2 separate regions of the Homo sapiens genome follow, and region 1 is linked to region 2. The links are contacts of gene promoters, found by promoter capture Hi-C in blood cells and fetal thymus (Javierre and others, 2016). All regions are on one chromosome and are shown on one strand. Each heading gives the region's core, a stretch centred on a gene start or on the middle of the fragment in contact. The rest is flanking DNA. Distances are from core to core; before and after follow the strand shown.

Evidence for each region. The method cuts DNA at HindIII sites, captures the fragments that hold promoters and counts their contacts. A CHiCAGO score of 5 or more calls a contact.
Region 1: a contact is called between a fragment that was not itself captured here and the fragment with the promoter of SPINDOC in region 2, in 9 of 17 cell types (M2 macrophages, M0 macrophages, M1 macrophages and 6 more). The highest score is 8.1, in M2 macrophages.

Annotation. Positions count from the first base shown.
Region 1 is chr11:63,946,580-63,950,234 of GRCh38, forward strand. NAA40 (N-alpha-acetyltransferase 40, NatD catalytic subunit) reads left to right here. Exons shown (of 8, transcript NM_024771.4): 3 at 372-424. Among named protein-coding and RNA genes, the nearest start is that of NAA40, 9.4 kb to the left of the region's middle. The HindIII fragment of the contact is 8,489 bases long and covers 1-3,655 here.
Region 2 is chr11:63,812,205-63,816,217 of GRCh38, forward strand. SPINDOC (spindlin interactor and repressor of chromatin binding) reads left to right here and starts at 1,252. Exons shown (of 6, transcript NM_138471.3): 1 at 1,252-1,609. The coding sequence starts at 1,483. RefSeq lists a silencer at 888-1,357. The HindIII fragment of the contact is 4,146 bases long and covers 1-3,105 here.

The DNA.
Region 1 (3,655 bases), core at 263-2,762, 130 kb after region 2:
TGGCTCAGGGGCTTGATTTTCCATTTGGAGTTGTAACCAGGTAAAGTCAGTGTGCAGCAGATCAGGTAGCCTCTTCTTTGGGTTAGCTGTGCTGTGAGCAGGTTGTATGCCCACAGGCTAATGAGGTCTCCTCTTGCCCTGTCAGGTGATGCCAAACTTAACTCTCCTGGGCCTTTCCACCAAAGCCTTCCTCGCACATGTGACTTCAGAGCTAGGCAAATGGTGGGTTTTGGGAGGCTGCTCCTGGTTCTGAAGTTAGTCTCCCGTTGTGGGTCCCCACAGCATCCCACTCCAAGACAACAGCTCTTGGGATAGGATCTGCACCTCCGCCCCACTTGTCTGTGCTGTTCCTCTTTTCTTTCCCTCCACAGCTTGGAGACCCTCTGGAGGCTTTCCCAGTGTTCAAGAAATATGATAGAAACGGGTGAGTCACATTGAGCATTACCAACTGCTGTCTCCTCGAGTGTCTTCAGGAATTCCCTTTCCAGAGTAGGCTTCCTCAGACACAAATTTTCTCATTGTTCTTCGTATTTACGAAAAAACAGGGCTGGGTGCGGTGGCTCACGCCTGTAATCCAAGCACTTTGGGAGACCGAGGTGGGTGGATCACATGAGGTCAGGAGTTCGAGACCAGCCTGGCTAACATAGTGAAACCCCATTTCTACTAAAAATACAAAAAATTAGCTGGCACGGTGGCGATCGCCTGTAATCCCAGCTACTCGGGAGGCTGAGGCAGGAGAATCACTTGAACCCGGGGGGCAGAGGTTGCAGTGAGCCGAGATAGCACCATTGCACTCCAGCTTGGGTAACAAGAGTGAAACTCCATCTCAAAACAAAACAAAACAAAACAAAACAAAAGCAGAAACTGACTCGTGCCCTATATTGATATAAAATCCCCCAGGTAGGGTGGCAGAAGAATCCATAAATGAGCAAAGATTGCACTTAATCTCAGACTGATGTCTCTTTAGATAAATTTTTCTTTTATTTTTTGAGATGGAGTCTTGCTTAGTCACCCAGGCTGGAGTGCAGTGACGCAATCTCGGCTCACTGCAACCTCCGCCTTCTGGGTTCAGCCGATTCTCCTGCCTCAGCCTCCCAAGTACCTGGGATTATAGGTGCGTGCCACCACACCTCACTAATTTTTGTGGGTTTTTTTTTTTTTTTTTGAGACGGAGTCTCACTCTGTCGTTCAGGCTGGAGTGCAGTGGTGCGATCTCGGCTCACTGCAACCTCTGCCAGGTTCAAGTAATTCTCTGTCTCAGCCTCTCAAATAGCTAGGATTAAAGGCACCCGCCACCACGTCCAGCTAATTTTTGTATTTTTAGTAGAGTCAGGGTTTCACCATCTTGGCCAGGCTGGTCTTGAACTCCTGACCTCATGATCCACCTGTCTCAGCCTCCCAAAGTGTTGGGATTACAGGTGTGAGCCACTGCGCCCAGCTAATTTTTGTATTTTTAGTAGAGATGGGGTTTCACCATGTTGGCCAGGCTGGTCTCGAACTCCTGACCTCAACTGACCCACCTGCCTCAGCCACCCAAAGTGCTGGGATTACAGGTGTGAGCCACCGCGCCTGGCCTGATGTCTCTTCAGGACTGATTATTCTCTCTGCAAAGAATCATTGAGCTGAAACAAACTTGGAAAATTATCTAGGCTGACACTCACATTTAATGCATGGGAAACTGAGGCCCAGAGAGTCAAATGAGCTTTCTGAGTTTATGGAGTTTCCCCTGACAGCTGAGGGGCTTTTAATTTCCAATCTAGTGCTCTTTCCCTGAGTATACAGTATAATTGTTAAAAGCCAATTCCTGGCTATTTGGCCCTGAACAAATTACTTTTCTTCTTTAAAAAGAAAAATATTTGCTGGGCGTGGTGGCTCACGCCTGTAATCTCAGCACTTTGGGAGGCCGAGGTGGGCGGATCACGAGGTCAGGAGATCGAGACCATCCTGGCTAACACGGTAAAACCCCGTCTCTACTAAAAATATAAAAAATTAGCCAGGCATGGTGGCGGGCACCTGTAGTCTCAGCTACTCGGGAGGCTGAGGCAGGAGAATGGCGTGAACCCGGGAGGCGGAGCTTGCAGTGAGCCAAGATTGCGCCATTGCACTCCAGCCTGGGCAACAGAGCAAGACTCCATCTCAAAAAAATGTATATATTTTTTGGTAGAGAAGGGGTCTTGCCTATGTTGCCCGGGCTGGTCTCAAACTGCTGTCCTCAAGTGATCCTCCCACCTCGGCCTCCTAAAGTGCTGTGCCCAGCTGACCCTGAACAAATTACTTAACCTTTCTGTTCCTCAATTTTCTATTTAAAAATGGGCCTGGGCCAGGTGTGGTGGCTCATACCTGTAATCCCAGCACTTTGGGAGGCTGAGGTTGGAAGGATCGTTTGTGCCCAGGAGTCCAAGACCAGTCCTGGCGACATAGGAAGACCCTGTCTCTACAAAAAAAAAATTTTTTTAATTAGCTGGGCATGGTGGCACATGCCTGTATTCCCAGCTACTGAGAAGGCTGATGTGGGAGAATTGCTTGAGCCTGGGAGATGCAGGCTGCAGTGAGCCATGGTAGCAGCATTGCACTCTAGCCTGGGTGACAGCAAGATCCTGTCTCAAAACAAAACAAAAACCCAAAAACCAAAAATGGTTCTAATAATAGTACCTTTCTCATGGACTTGTCAGGAGGATAAGATGTAAAGTGTTAGTTCCTGCAGCATAATAAAAGCTAGATAAGTGTTTGCTGTTATTTTATTTTAAAATTTTATTTTAGATTCGCGGGGTACATGTGCAGCTGTGTAGTGGTGGGGTTGGGCATCTAGTGTACCCATCACCCAAATAGTAATCATCGTACCCAATAGGTAAATTTTCAACCCTCACCCTGTTTGCTGTTACTATTACTGATCCAGTTAACTATAGGCTCTGGAGTGAAGGCCCCCTCACGTTTTTTTCTCGTTTTGGTTTCTAAAATAGGAAGTATAATCTGCCTTACCTGAGATGCTGTTGATGAGTTGTGCTTCCAGAATGTAACATCTTGGCTTGGGGATAAACTGGGGCTCTGGGGGATTGAATTGTAGCTGGGCTTCTTAATAACTCTACTTGGAGAAGTCACTCATATTCCTCAAGCCTCATTTTCTTACCTGTCAAATAGGATGATGATGCCAAACTTGCAAGCTGTTTTTTTTTTTTTTTTTTTGAGATGGTGTCTTGCTCTGTCACCCAGGCTGGAGTGCAGTGGCGCCATCTCGGCTCACTGCAAGCTCAGCCTCCCGGATTCACGCCATTATCCTGCCTCAGCCTCCCGAGTAGCTGGGACTACAGGCACCCGCCACCACGCCCGGCTAATTTTTTGTATTTTTAGTAGAGATGGGGTTTCACCGTGTTAGCCAGGATGGTCTCGATCTCCTGACCTTGTGATCCGCCCGCCTCGGCCTCCCAAAGTGCTGGGATTACAGGTGTGAGCCACCGTGCCCAGCCAAACTTGGAAGGTTTTTTTTAAGGAAGAAAGAGAATATATGCAGCTCAGTAAGTAGCAGCTGGTATGAGGTTTTTTTTGTTTTTTTTTTTTTTTGAGACAGAGTCTCGCTCTGTGCCTAGGCTGGAGTGCAGTGGCACGATCTCGGCTCACTGCAGCCTCTGCCTCCTGGGTTCAAGTGATTCTCCTGCCT
Region 2 (4,013 bases), core at 2-2,501:
ACTGCAAGGCCAGGCGCGGTGGCTCACGCCTGTAATCCCACTTTGGGAGGCCGAGGCAGACGGATGATGAGGTCAAGAGATCAAGACCATCCTGGCCAACATGCTGAAACCCCGTCTCTACTAAAAATACAAAAATTAGCCGGGCATGGTGGCACGTGCCTGTAGTCCCAGCTACCCAGGAGGCTGAGGCGGGAGAATAGCTTGAACCTGGGAGGCGGAGGTTGTGGTGAGCCGAGATAGCGCCACTGCACTCCAGCCTGGTGACAGAGCGAGACTCTGTCTCAAAAAAAAAAAAATTAAAAAATTGACTGCAATCCATATAGACTAGTTCACACCTCTTCTCACACCCCCATCCTACTACGCGATTCTGAATACTACTGTGTCTGGTCTGATATAACGACATTCGAAGATGGATTTTCAGTGTCAGACATTTTGCATTTTCTGAGCTGAAATCTCATGAGGGTTGCTATAGAAGAGGGAGATGCACATTCCATGTCACAGAAGTAAAAGCTCACCCAGAGTGTGGTTATAGGGCAGCAATGTCATGGCAACTGGACTCTGGTCTTGGGGCTCTCAAGGGATTGCTGTGTGTCCTTGGAGAGGGTCACAAAATCTCCGGACTCCCGTGCCAAAAATGGAAATCATACCCATCAGGGTGGTTTATGTCCGCTCACAGTCCACTCTGCTTCTCTTCTTTGCCTTCCCAGAAGGGTCCAAAATGGTTTTTGAAAGAAACGATGAGCCGGACTAAGAAAACAGATAATGTGCCCACGGCCACGGAGCTGGCAGATGAGAAGGAATTCGGTCTCTGCGTTTCCATACCAAGGCCCTTTCCACTCACCCACCGCTTCTCTTCCTGCCCGGGGCATCTGCTGGCGGAGGAAGGCTTGTCCACGGAAAGGCAAAAGCGACTCCCGATCAAAATCCGGGGGCACCTGGTAGCGCTCTCCACGCCAGCAGAAACGCCCAACTGACTTCTTAATGGAGGGAAACCCCGGGCTTGGCCCGCAGACTGAGGGGCCCGCGTTGCGGGTTTTGGGGGCCCCTCTGCCTCTGCGCACCGGGTGGCCCCGGGTCCCCTCGGCCCTTCCCGCCGCCTCCCGGGTCCAGGGTTTCTAACGGGGCCGCGTGCCCGGGGCGGGGCCACGCGCGATTGGCCGCGCGGCATCGGGGGCGGGTCCGCGGCTGGCCGGCCGGGCGGGCGCCGACAATGAGCCTCCATAAAAGGGAGCGGCGGGGGGCAGGGGCCCCGGATTGAGCCCTCCCCGCCCGGGCTCCCGACGCGCCGAGGTCTCGGGGAGGCCCGGACGCGCCGGTCGCAGGCCCGGCCGGCGAGCGGCGGGCGGGCGGCGGGGAGGGGGCTGCGCGGGGCGGGCGGCGGGCCCGGCGCTATTCCGGCCAGGAGGCGGGAGGCGGTTGCCGGCTGCGCGCCGAAGCCTGCGCGCCAGTCCTCCGGCCACTGCTATCGCCCACGGCCGCACCATGGCCCTAAAGGCCGAGGGCGCCGCACTCGACTGCTTCGAGGTGACGCTGAAATGCGAGGAAGGGGAGGACGAGGAGGAGGCCATGGTGGTGGCCGTAATTCCGCGGCCCGAGCCGATGCTCAGAGGTGAGGATGGAGGGGATTCCACTTCCGCGTCACGGTGCGGGGCCGGGGCTGGGGCCGTCCCTCCCCAGTCGGGGTCCGGGACCCGGGCACCTTCTCACCCCCTTCAGCCTTGGGGCCCAGGTTTCCCTCTCGGATCTGGGTCCAGGGCGCGCTCTTGCACCTCCCCCACCATGGTTTAGAAGCTCAGGCCTCCTCGATTTCCCCCTCCCTTCCCCTTTCCCCCGCCCAGGGTCTGGAGACTTCGATCCACGCCCCGCACGCTCCGGATCTTCCGGTGCCCAAGCGCCCCCTCTCCCGGGCCCAGCACCAGAGGCCGGATCCCCAGAGGCGCTGGGTGGTTGCGGCCGCCGTCTCACAGCCTGGGAAGGGGAGGCAAGCACAACGGCCGGGCTGTGTTCTAGTCCGAGGGGCGGCGAAGCCTCTAGGCCGGAGGCTACAGGCGGGCGCCGCTGCCGACCTCCAGGAGAATTTTAAGGGCTCTCCGAGCATAACGCTTCCCTGCCCACCACCCCGCTTCATTCCCATTCCCGGGCCTTCCACTTGCAGGAGCCACAGGTGTCAAGTTCTGGAGAGAAGGGATGAATGGGACTGCATACAACAGCTAGTTTGGAAAAGCAGTGCAGTGCTAGAACGAGATTAGCTTTGGGAGGGGATGGGAGGAACAATCTCAGAACACTCGCTCTCCCCTCCCCCTTCACCGATTTCTAGTCCTCAGGAGCTTGCAAACCGTAAGAAAACAAAGAGCCATCTTTGTGGGAGACTTAATATGCATGAAAATGCAAATATATTTCCATTCTCCCACCCCGCTTTTCTTAGGCGGGATAGTACCCAAAAGAGGTTGAGAGCAGCAATGCCATTCATTGAACTTCAGCCGAACAGAATGATGTCTGCCTGCACTGCCTGTCATCCTTTTTGGAACTGGAAGGGTTATAAAATTCATGAGGGAAATAAAGGTCACCTCCCTTCTCGGAGCATTTAGTCCAAAAGATAGGTTGTTTTCCTACTTCTGCTAATATTTGTTGAGTGTTCATTGGGCATTGTCAGAGGCTGTCTCAGTTAATCCTCTCAACCCTGCAAGGGTGGCCTTATCCCCACTGTTAGGGCAGGAATAGACAGGTGAATTCATTCAACCAATATTCACTGGACGTCTACTTTAGGCTGTTTAGGCTAGTGTTTTTAGGCTGGGAAGTAGTAGTAAACAGAGCAACCGAAACCCTGCTCTTGAAGAACATATATATACCAATGGCTAAAGACAGAGAAATAGGTTCATGTATAGTATGTTGGGTGGCAATAAATGGTTCAGAGATCACTAAAGCAGGAAAAGGAGAAAGAGGAGGAATGGGTATTTAATTGAATATATCGAGTGGTTCAGAAAGGGTTTTCTAATAAGGTGAATTTTGAGCACAGACCCGAAGGAAGTGAGGATGCCAACCTTGCAGATATCTGCAGGAAGAGCATTTCAGGCCGAATAGCAAGTGCAAAGGTCCGGCAGCACAAGCTTCTGGAAAGATTTCGGTGGAGAGAGGAAGAAAGATTGAATTCAAGGTTTTTGGCCTGAGCAACTGGAGGAAGAGCCTTCCCATTTTCCGAGATGGGGAAGGCTGCGGTGCTCTTGGGAGACTGGGAGTGAAAGTTTGAATATGATTACGTTTGAGATGCCTATTTATGACATATTCAGGTGGAGAGGTCAACTAAGCAGTCAGATACATGGGCCTAGATTTCCTGGAAGTATCTAGCTAGTGGCGTAAACAGAAATTGCCAGCAGGCAGACAGTGGGAAGAGAAGGAAGTAGAGAAGTGTCTAAGGACTGAGTCCTGGGAAACTCCAGTGATGGCAGGTTGGAGACCGAGTCAGTCCCTCATCACACATTACTAAATGCCACTGCATGCGAGGAGATACAGATACAGATGCTGGAGATACAGATGCAAAACATCAGAAATCTGTATGGTCATGGATTTTTTTTTTTTTTTTGAGACGGAGTTTTGCTCTTTTTGCCCAAGCTGTAGTGCAATGGCACAATCTCGGCTCACTGCAACCTTCGCCTCCCGGGTTCAAGTGATTCTTCTGCCTCAACCTCCCGAGTAACTGGGATTATAGGCATGTGCCACCACGCCCAGCTAATTTTGTATTTTTAATAGAGATAGGGTTTCCCCATGTTGGTGGGGTTGGTCTTGAACTCTCAACCTCAGGTGATCCGCCCACCTCGGCCTCCCAAAGTGCTAGGATTCAGGCGTGAGCCACCGCACCTGGCCGTGGTCATGGATGCTATGGTGTGGTAAGGAGACAGGCAGTGAACATCCCAAAAACAAGTGCCAGGTGGTGATGTGTGCTGTGTTGGAGGTGATGCATAAGGGGAATGGGGTGCTCTAGTGAGGGGAGATGGTCTTCAGCAACAAGCCAGAGG